Linked DNA regions of Homo sapiens: all the other regions are linked to region 1. The links are contacts of gene promoters, found by promoter capture Hi-C in blood cells and fetal thymus (Javierre and others, 2016). All regions are on one chromosome and are shown on one strand. Each heading gives the region's core, a stretch centred on a gene start or on the middle of the fragment in contact. The rest is flanking DNA. Distances are from core to core; before and after follow the strand shown. Region 1 holds the start of DIAPH2 (diaphanous related formin 2). Region 2 overlaps DIAPH2 (diaphanous related formin 2). Region 3 overlaps LOC107985714 (a long non-coding RNA gene).

Evidence for each region. Contacts are between HindIII fragments. The CHiCAGO score rates a contact against its expected background, and 5 or more counts as called.
Region 2: a fragment that was not itself captured here is called in contact with the fragment with the promoter of DIAPH2 in region 1 in 1 of 17 cell types (total B cells); the score reaches 5.0 in total B cells.
Region 3: a contact is called between a fragment that was not itself captured here and the fragment with the promoter of DIAPH2 in region 1, in 1 of 17 cell types (monocytes). The highest score is 7.0, in monocytes.

Annotation. Positions count from the first base shown.
Region 1 is chrX:96,683,299-96,686,580 of GRCh38, forward strand. It overlaps DIAPH2 (diaphanous related formin 2), which reads left to right and starts at 1,544. Exons shown (of 27, transcript NM_006729.5): 1 at 1,544-1,892. The coding sequence starts at 1,761. RefSeq lists enhancers at 1,332-2,047, 2,048-2,761. The HindIII fragment of the contact is 2,760 bases long and covers 735-3,282 here.
Region 2 is chrX:96,838,584-96,842,072 of GRCh38, forward strand. All of the region lies in intron 4 of DIAPH2 (diaphanous related formin 2), which reads left to right. Among named protein-coding and RNA genes, the nearest start is that of RPA4, 44 kb to the right of the region's middle. The HindIII fragment of the contact is 1,164 bases long and covers 790-1,953 here.
Region 3 is chrX:96,449,642-96,453,104 of GRCh38, forward strand. All of the region lies in intron 1 of LOC107985714 (a long non-coding RNA gene), which reads right to left. Among named protein-coding and RNA genes, the nearest start is that of DIAPH2, 230 kb to the right of the region's middle. The HindIII fragment of the contact is 1,937 bases long and covers 455-2,391 here.

The DNA of each region.
Region 1 (3,282 bases), core at 294-2,793:
AACCCCATCTCTACTAAAAATGCAGAATTAGCTGGGCGTGGTGGTGGGTCCCTGTAATCCCAGCTACTTGGGAGGCTGAGGCAGGAGAATCGCTTGAACCCGGGAGGTGGAGATTGCGGTGAGCTGAGATTGCACCTTTGCACTCCAGCCTGGGCAACAAGAGGGAAACTCTGTCTCAGAATTAAAAAAAAAAGAAAGTTAATGACAATGACAAAGCTAGAATTAAAGCTGTTTTCAGATATCTGGTGTTCTTTTCATTCTACTGCCCAAGTTAGCTGTCTCCTTGCACCTATAGCATGGTCAAATGCATCCTAATGCACTCTCAATAAATATGTTCAGATACAAATTCCATTCAGCATATTAAATTTAGGCCGAAGGGGAGAAGGTCAAAAGGAGTCATAGTCTGGAGATATCTTCAGTAATAGGTGTATGGCATGTTTATAGATTTCATATTTAAATTTACTTTATAGGTAGCTTTCCTAGCATATGTGCTCCTATTCTATGATGGTGGTTCATTCAAATCCTACCCACCCCGTCTAATGTTCTCAGTGTGTACCTTTACTTTTAAAGGGCATCATTTAAAGAGGATGGAAGAAATACAGTGTGGGTACTATATTTTGTCCTGAGGACAAAATGCTAGGTATGACGCAAGGACTTAAGACTATCGTCCCAACAGTGCCCTGCTGCTGCACAAAAACACCTAGCATTTGTCTAGGGATTTTCATTTACAACAAAGCTTTGACACACATGATCTTATTCACTCCCCACAACAACTCTAAACTAGTTCGGGAACCTGAAAATAGCACTCAATTCAATTGCTAGCTGTATGTAAGTGTTTTGGTTATAGAACCTAACAATCCCCTAGGGATTAAGCGGTGGGCGCCTGCTGCTTCAACAACCCTGCAGCAAGGGAATAAAGGAACAACTGTATTTCTTCGGTCACAACGTAATCACGACAACAGAAAGCACTCACTCTTTCCACTCTGACCCACACACAGTCTGTCGAGGCAATTAATCAGCACTCCCGGTGGTTTTCCTATAGGATGCCAGTTCCCTTGCCAATCAAGTCTTTCCACAGACTGTAGCAGGACCACACCCCCGGAGAGGCCTCAGGGAGGGAAGGTGCTGTGGCCCACAGAAGTGAAAGCTGATACTCAGGTTGACCCGCCAGTGAAACTTACAGGCGGATCTTCCCGGGCCTCAGTTTCCCCATCTCTAAAATGGGCTACCCTTCCTTTCTCTTGACTAGTTCCCTCCCTGTTCTCGCTGGGCCACTAGGAAGTGAAATCAGTGCCTAACCGCAGCTGAAAGTGCTCTGTTAGGCTCCAGTCACCGCGCCGGGCATGCTCAGTAGCTGGGGCCGGCTCGGCTGCGGGAGTAGGAAGCAGCTTTGCGCGCCCGGGCGGCCGATGCGGGCACTTTGAAGAATCACGTGTGTTGAGGCCCTCTTAAAGAGATAGGCACCTACTTTTCCCTCCACCCTAAACACCGCCCTGAGGGCGGCGGCGACCGTGGTAATTGCAACTGCTCAGGGGCAGGGCTTGCCCCAGCGCCGAGTAGTGGCAACGGCGTGGTTGCGTCGGGGGTGCCTGGGAGCCTGGAGTCCCGGGGGCCTGAAATCGGCAGCTTCCCGGGCAGACACTCTCTCCCTCAGGAAGAGGTGCCGCCGAGTCAGCGCGGGGCAGTGTGAGCGCCCCGAGGTGCTTTCTCAGTTGAGGAGAGGTGGGGTTACAGGGCACAGGTGACAGGGCCGGAGAAAGATGGAGCAGCCCGGGGCGGCGGCGTCGGGAGCGGGAGGCGGCAGCGAGGAACCCGGTGGGGGCCGGAGCAACAAGCGGAGCGCGGGGAACCGGGCCGCCAATGAAGAGGAAACGAAAAACAAACCCAAATTGGTGAGTGCTCCCGCAGCCCCCGCCGGCCTTAGGGACAGGGAGAGCCCCGGGATCCTCCTGCCATTGAACACGGGGGCACCCGGGGCCCCCTCCCAAGGATGACCGCGACCTCGCTGTGCAACTCGGGGAGCCGCTAAAGGAGTGGCCACGCCGAGGCGCGGAGACGGCGTGGGGGCGGAAGAGCACCCCCTTCTCTACTTAACCCCTTTCTCACTCTTGTCAGCCCGGGAGGCGGTGCGGGAAGGAGAAAGGCCCAGCCCCAACTTGGGGACACCCCGAGTACTGGGTAGGGCTGTTGTTTGTCTAACTTGTGGGCGCAAACCTTTGCGCGATTCCATTCTCCTCCCACTTCTTGTTAGTTGCTGTTTTGCCTCCTAACGCGTAGGGTCCGGGGCAGGGGAACCTCCCTCCTTTTTATTCCAAGTCCTTGGGAGCCCACCTACAGCTTCGCAAATCAAGAAGAACACTATTTATGCTCCCAGTCTTTCTACTTTACCAGAAATCTCAGGAAGAGGCGCCTACGTGCCTTTTTCCTCCTCCTTGCCTCTCTCCATGTGCTCTCCCAAGAAATGTTTCTTTGGAAGGGTGGGGGCGCGTGGGAGTTTGAGGCTGGGTGAGGTACCACCAACTGTCGAGTGTGTGTAATAGGCATAGTCATACAGTACTTCCACTTAGTTGATTAAGAACGCTCAAAAGCAGTAGGCACAAACTGTGCAAATCTCACCGTGCTGATAGTGTGAACCGATGGTAGCAGTCCATTTCCTGCCACTGAATGTGCAGAGGAATGAAATCGATGAGGCCTGGTATTGCATTGGGAAATACTGGAGTTTCCTCAGCTCATCAGAAGGGTTCCGCTTTTTGTAAACTTTCTAATTTGGGTGGTGTGAGGGGAAAGGGTTTTCCTGTACAAATTCAGCAGATACTCCTTAGAGCTGTATTCTTAGTCCAGATCCGAAGCACAAGCCACATGTTGAATGTATAGATTTCAGCTTTAACTACCAACTTGATTATAATAGACAAGGAGAGGGTGACATATAAATAAAGCCGTTTCTTATGGCATCTGGCCATTTGGTTTGGATCCAGTACAAAACTGTGGTTTAATCAGTGATTAAAAATTTAAGTAAAAAGTTAACTGATAGTTTCCACAAATGGTTTGGTACGTCTAGCAAGAATCTGCCACTTTTAAGAAGTATGCTTTCGAGAAAAAAAAAAACACTTATCTCTGTTAGTAGTAACACCTTGATTATATTCTTCTCTTCCCTTTAGCCATTTGTCCTGATTCATCTTTTATGTTTTACTTGCTTTGACAAGGTAACTAGATAGTTATGAGATCGTATCATTTTCAGTTCCTAGCTAACTTCACTGTTCCGGTTCCTAGCTAACTTCACTG
Region 2 (3,489 bases), core at 122-2,621, 160 kb after region 1:
TTAGTTCACCTCAGTTTCTATAATGCAGCCTCTAAAGTCTCATTTCTTTAACAGGGCCTTGTGGGTGTTCTAAAGGAATGATTGAAATGAAAAGAAATGAGAGAGTCAAACAGTGTACCGTAATAGATGAAATGGAAAGTAATTATGTTAATGTTGACTCATTATGAAGCTCTAACCATTTTTACCTGCTCATTTCTGTGTGGAAACCTGTGCAGCTGAGATGCTGAATAAGAAATTCTTGTACAAATGAGCCTAGAGGCATGTTTCTAGTATAGGAGCTAGGTCTATGCAGAATTATAATGAATTTCCCTAAGTCATTATTTAAATATGCTATCAGAGTAGGTGATTCTCCTGCCAGAAAATTTGGCTTCTAATGTTTATCATCAAATTTTTAGATGTATATTTGAATCTTCATTGCTGCATGTAATTCTCATTTGTTAATTAGAGAGAAAAAACCCTATATTCCACAATACATCTATATCATATATAGTGTCAGATTTTACAGGATAACCTGTAAGGAAGGGATTTATGAGAAAAAAATGTTAGCAGGGCCAAACAATGTAAATAAAAACATGTAAGTGCTTAAGAACGTGAGATTTGGAGTCAGATGGGCTAGATTGAAACCAAATCTGTCTGACTCCAAAACTGAAGCTTTTATTCATGGTCAGAAAATTTTGAAAGTGTCACTCCCCTAAATGCCTATACCATTCCCCCCATTGCGCTTAAATGTTTCTTTTTGCCAGTATTCTGTTTCTAAAGCATGCATTTTTCAGTCATAATGTATAATAAAGCTTAATGGTCTTGCCTCCTATGACTAAAATGTCCTGCCAGTATTCTGGAAATAAAATATTATAGAGAATCTCTCTGATTATGTTAAATTGCTAACGATGGCTTAATTACTTGTTAGAAAAATGGTACATTGTCATTTTTAATTTACAGACACTTAATTTTTTCCTATGCTAATAAGTGACTTCTAAAACAATTAAATCCCTGAAACAATTAAATACCTAATTTTTGTTAAATTATATTCAACATTAATTTAAGAGTTTAATTAAAGCTAAAGAACATTTTACCTCGGGCATGAACTTTTTCCCCTTTCTGTCAGATGTGAATGCTTTTAAGTAATAAACTTAAATTTCATGTTCTTAAAATTAATGTTGGTGCTTATAATGTTATTTTGTATTTGGTGGTTTTTAATGGCAGTCTTTTATGTTTGGAATTTCAATTTTTGTATTATTTCCTACAAAGATGCAAGAACTAGTTATACTTTACTTTTAACAGTGAAGTCTTGATAGCATAGAATTATTACACCAGAAGGAATGTAAAAATTTCATCTAGAGCAGAGCTGTCTAGAAGAAATATAATGCAAACCACATATGTAATTTAAAATTTTCTAGAAGCCACATTTAAAAAGTAAAAAGAAACAGGTGAAATTCATTTTAATAATTTATTTTATGTAATCCAATATATTTAGTACATTATCATTTTAATGTGTGATCAATATAAAATTAATGAGATATATCTTTTTATTAACTCTCCATAATATGATGTGTATTTTACATTTATAGCACATTTTAATTCCAACTAGCCACATTTCAAGTGATTGGTTGCCACATGTGACTAATGACTTCCATATTGGACAGTGCAGATCTAGAGTCTCGATTTATTTCCCATCCCTGTATCCCTGATGATATGGCACACTGTGAATAGTGCTATTGGCTTATCAAGTGGTGCATACTTCCCTAGTAAGGGATTATTGGAAAATCCAGGTGAGAGGAGCTGTCTTCTGTAGTTTTGGAGAGTAAATGCATTCAATATGATCCTGATCAGCCCATAACCTGGGGTAGGGGAGCTTACATTCTCCACTGGGAATCACTGATCTTATTTGACCTCTTTATATTCTGCAAGAGGAAATGAGGCCCACCTTCATTCCAGGGTCCATGTTCTGCAATAAGCTTGGCCCTCTTACATTTCTTTCTCTCTTGAAGTAGCCTTTTCCTGTGTTGTTTGTTCATTTTGGGATTTTTTTTTATTATTATTTTTGAGACGGAGTCTGGCTCTGTCGCCCAGGCTGGGGTGCAGTGGCGTGATCTCGGCTCACTGCAAGCTCTGCCTCCTGGGTTCACGCCATTCTCCTGCCTCAGCCTCCTGAGTAGCTGGGACTACAGACGCCCACCACCATGCCCAGCTAATTTTTTTTTTTGTATTTTTAGTAGAGACGGGGTTTCGCTGTGTTAGCCAGGATGGTCTCGATCTCCTGACCTTGTGATCTGCCCGCCTCGGCCTCCCAAAGTGCTGGGATTACAGGCGTGAGCCACCGTGCCCGGCCCATTTTGAGATGTTAATCAGTTTCCCTTCTCTTCTAGTTTTGGATATCTAATGGAAGATTATCACATATCATGAATGATAGTTCTGTTGATGCTATTTCTCTTATTAAATGTTCATTGCCATTATCTTCTTTAAATCTCTACCATTTAAGTCACACTGTTGAAGACTCAACTAATCAGAACCAATTGCCTTGCATTTTGAATGTGAACTGCCCATGAATTCTCTGGATTGAAAAATATTCTCCCTCCCCTCTATTGATTAGTAATGTGTTTTTTGTTCCTTTTCAACATATATTCTAAACGTTTATAGAGTCCTCTTCACTTTCATGCTTATGTTATCCTCTTATTAAATAAAGTAATGCCAAGCCCATCATGTGAGTGTTTCTTGGGAATTGAGAAATTTAGAATTGGGAAAATAGAGAAAGAACTCAGAAATCAAAGGAACCTGGCTCACTGTGTTCAATTTGTTCACATTTCAACCTCTTAAGTAATGAAATATCTTCTGAAATAATTGCCTTCTCCTCTCCATTCCCTTCCCACTTCCATATTTTTAGGCCACGACTTTTATAAGAGCCTCTCAGATTGCACTCCTTATGCCTTGAAAGTGCATCCAGAGTTGTCATTCTAAAAATAAATCTAATCATGTGTTCCTTTTTGTCTAGCAGTCATCCAGCATGGCAAGATCCCCAGGGTTCTTAGAAGCTTGGTTCCAAAACCTACCTTTCTACCAGCACTACCTATCATTTCCTTTTGTTCTGCTACCCATTCCCCACTAACCAGAACACCCAGCACTCTAGCCTGATTGTTATTCATAATTTCCCAATGCACTGTAAACTTTCTGTCATGCGTGTCCCTGTGAAGAGACCACCAAACAGACTTTGTGTGAGCAATAAAGCTTTTTAATCACCTAGGTGCAGGCGGGCTGAATCCGAAAAGAGAGTCAGCTAAAGGAGTTAGGGGTGGGGCAGTTTTATAGGATTTGGGTAGGTAGTGGAAAATTACAGTCAAAGGGGGTTGTTCTCTTGTGGGCAGGGGCGGGGATCACAAGGTGCTCAGTGGGGGAGCTTTTGAGCCAGGATGAGCCAGGAGAAGGAATTTCACAAGGTAGTGTCACCAGTTAAGGCAGGAACCGGCCATTTTAACTTTTGGGATTCTTCAGTTA
Region 3 (3,463 bases), core at 173-2,672, 230 kb before region 1:
TGTGTGTTAACTCACTTGACTTTACTGACACCACTCTTACCTGTTTCTCCATCATAACAACCCTATTACATTGGGAACCCCTAACTTTTCTATAAAGTTTTAAATAAAATCAAGCCCATTTTGGAAAGCATGGACTTGGAATCTTTTTTAAACTACGAATGAGTATGATACAAACAGTAATAATATAAGATAGAAATCATTTGCTTTAGAGACTATACCAAATATTATAGAATGTCCCATTGTGAAAAGTAGTTTAACACAGAATTAGCAATCAAGGCTTTTTGCCAGCCTCCTTAGCAGCTGTTAAAATTTGTTTGGAACCTTAGCATGAGAAAAACTGCAACAACTGTAAACTACAGTGGTTCATCTGAAATAAATTTATGGTTATGAAAAGCACAGAAAAACATCTGCAAAGGAAAGAAAACACTAGGGGGGTAGAAGGGAAAGTTAGTAAAGCTTCCCAGAATTATCCCAGGGCCTGTCAGGGAAGGTTAAACAAGAGGTTTCCCCTACAGCTGCCAGAGACAGAATTGGAGCTACCAAGAGTTAAAGGAATCAAATAAAGGGTGGAAGGATCTAAGGGATTTCTATCTCTATCTCATAGACTGAGAGTAAGGAAATACACTGGGGTATAGCTAGGCAGTAACCTCCTAAGCAGAGGAATATATGAAGAAATGGGATGGGTAGTGCCATACATGATAGCACAGTCTGTACACAAACAAGAAGATATATTCCATATTGTGCAAAGGGCTCATTACAGTGATTCCCAAAGAGTAACTTCAAAGTAGCAACTTTAGATGGCATAAAACTGAATTTCAACACATGCTAATAAATCAGGAGCTGAGCGGAAAGGTTAAAAAGTGCATGCTCAGGCTGGGCATTGTGTCTCACACCTGTAATCCCAGCACTTTGGGAAACCAAAGCGGGAGGATCGCTTGAGGCCAGGAGTTCAAGACCAGCTTGCACAACACATGGAGACTTCATCTCTACAAAGAATAACAATACAAAAATTAGCTGGGCATGGTGGCACGAGTCTGTGGTCCCAGCTACTCTGGAAGCTGAACCGGGAGGATCACTTGAGCCCACTTCAAGGTCACATTGAGTTATGAGCTTGCTACTGCACTCCAGCCTGAGCAACAGAGTGAGACTCTGTCTCAAAAAAAAAAAAAAAAAAAAGCACGTTCAAAACAAAATAGAAACTCTGAGTGGAAAATCAAAAAAGACAATATGGACTGGGCCCAGTGGCTCACGCCTGTAATCCCAGTACTTTGGGAGGCAGAGGCAGGCAGATCACCAGAGGTCGAGAGTTCAAGACCAGACTGGCCAACATGGTGAAACCCCGTCTTTACTAAAAATACAAAAGTTAATCAGGTGTGGTGGTGCATGCCTGTAATCCCAGCTACTCAGGAGGCTGAGACAGGAGAATCACTTGAACCCGGGAGGCGGAGGTTGCAGTGAGCCAAGATTGCACCATCGCACTCCAGTCTGGGCAACAAAGCAAGACTCCATCTCAAAACAAACAAACAAATGAAACAGGCAATGTGGAGAATTCCAAGTAATTAATGCTGTTAAAAATTGACATACATTTGAGTCAAGTTCACAATAAATTCAGAAAACTGCATTCAGGAATTTAAAAAGACATCAACTATTATCAATGGGTTATCTTTGCCTCAATTTTTATTAGCCAAGTGATTTATCCTCTCTCACTCCTCTTTCTTGTAATCTTCTAAGCCATTCGTAGGCCAAATATATGTTAAGTGGAAATTTCCCAAGATTGATGTGGAAAATTGTCACAATAAAATGTAAATCCATGTTGATTATCTTTCCATCATTAAGTATTTAGCAGTAACTTTAGACATACTGTAGAAATAATGTATAGAATGTTCAATGCATTTATTCTCTGAGGAGTTATAAATCTAAGATGCACTGGATAGCTGTCACTGTCTTCTAGTGTATTACAAGACAGTGATGATAACGGCTGTGCATGTTAAAGATTGTTTTCTTGTCAAAAATGCCAGATAACTGGACATTAGAGAGCTTGCTTAAGGCCACACTCCTTGAAGTCAACAAAACATATAAATATTTTTTAAGTTCCAATATAGTTCATATTACTTGCTACATCTTAATGTTGGGTAAATCTGGACTACTAACTAACTACATGAGTTGAGCAATAATCTTAATTGGATGGTAGTTATATGTTAACAGTAAGATATTCATCCAATAAGAAGTCAGAACAAGATAAAAATCTTTGTGCTATACATTTATACTGCGGGTTTATAGGGAATGTGTCTTAGAGATGTTCATCCTATATCTATGTAACAGTTTCTATCATATTAGGTCCTCCACACTCCACCATCCTCCACAGCCAGGTTAATCGACTACTATCACCTAAGCTTCTCATACGCAACCCTGTACCTTCACACATGAGGTCTCCTTACTTTAAATATTCTCACAGTGCCTCCTCAACAAATCCTCAAATCCCCCAGTTCCTTTATACCTCAGCTCACTTGTCATGTACTTTATCAAGACTTCTGGCTGGGCACGGTGGCTCACACACGTAATCCCAGCACTTTGGGAGGCCGAGGTGGGTGGATCACTTGAGGTCAGGAGTTCAAGACCAGCCTGGCCAACATGGTGAAACCTCATCTCTACTAGAAATACGTATATATAAAAATTAGCTGGGCGTGGTGGCAGGCGCTTGTAATCCCAGCTACTCAGGAGGGTGAGGCAGGAGAATCGCTTGAACCCGGGAGACAGAGGCTGCAGTGAGCTGAGATCACATCACTGCACTCCAGCCTGGGCGAAAGTGAGACTCTGTCTCAAAAAATAAAGACTTCTGACTAGTCTCAGTTTATACTTAACTTTCCACAACTTTGAATTCCTCTAACACTTATCAATAGTTTATATCACAGGATTATATTCTTGTTCATATGTAGGAATTATTCTCGGTAATTATGTAAAAAAAAATATAATAAGTCGGGCCGGGCGCAGTGGCTCATGCCTGTAATCCCAGGCCGAGGTTTCACCGTGTTGGTCAGGCTGGTCTCGAACTCCTGACCTCATGATCCACCCACCTCAGCCTCCCAAAGTGCTGGGATTAGAGGCGTGAGCCACCACGCCGGGCCAAAAAGAAATTTTTTTAAAGCCTTGTATATGTCCTACGCCAAAACACTGTTGCTATTTCAGAGCATAAGGCTGAAAGTCAGGATATGGCAAGAAGACAATATTTCTGTAGGATAAGGCGTTGTGTTTCTGTCTCTTTGTGTCTGCCAAAAAATGGAATTATGAGATTAACTACCTTGTTCCCTACTACTATCCTAAGTGGTCTTAACATTTGTAATGCAAGCTCCTCAACTGTTTATCTCTACTGCTATTATAAATATTACCATAGCTGACCTCTCTAAAAGAATGGTGAAGAATTTATCACTGATATCAGCATCCTAATAAATATATCATGGATGAA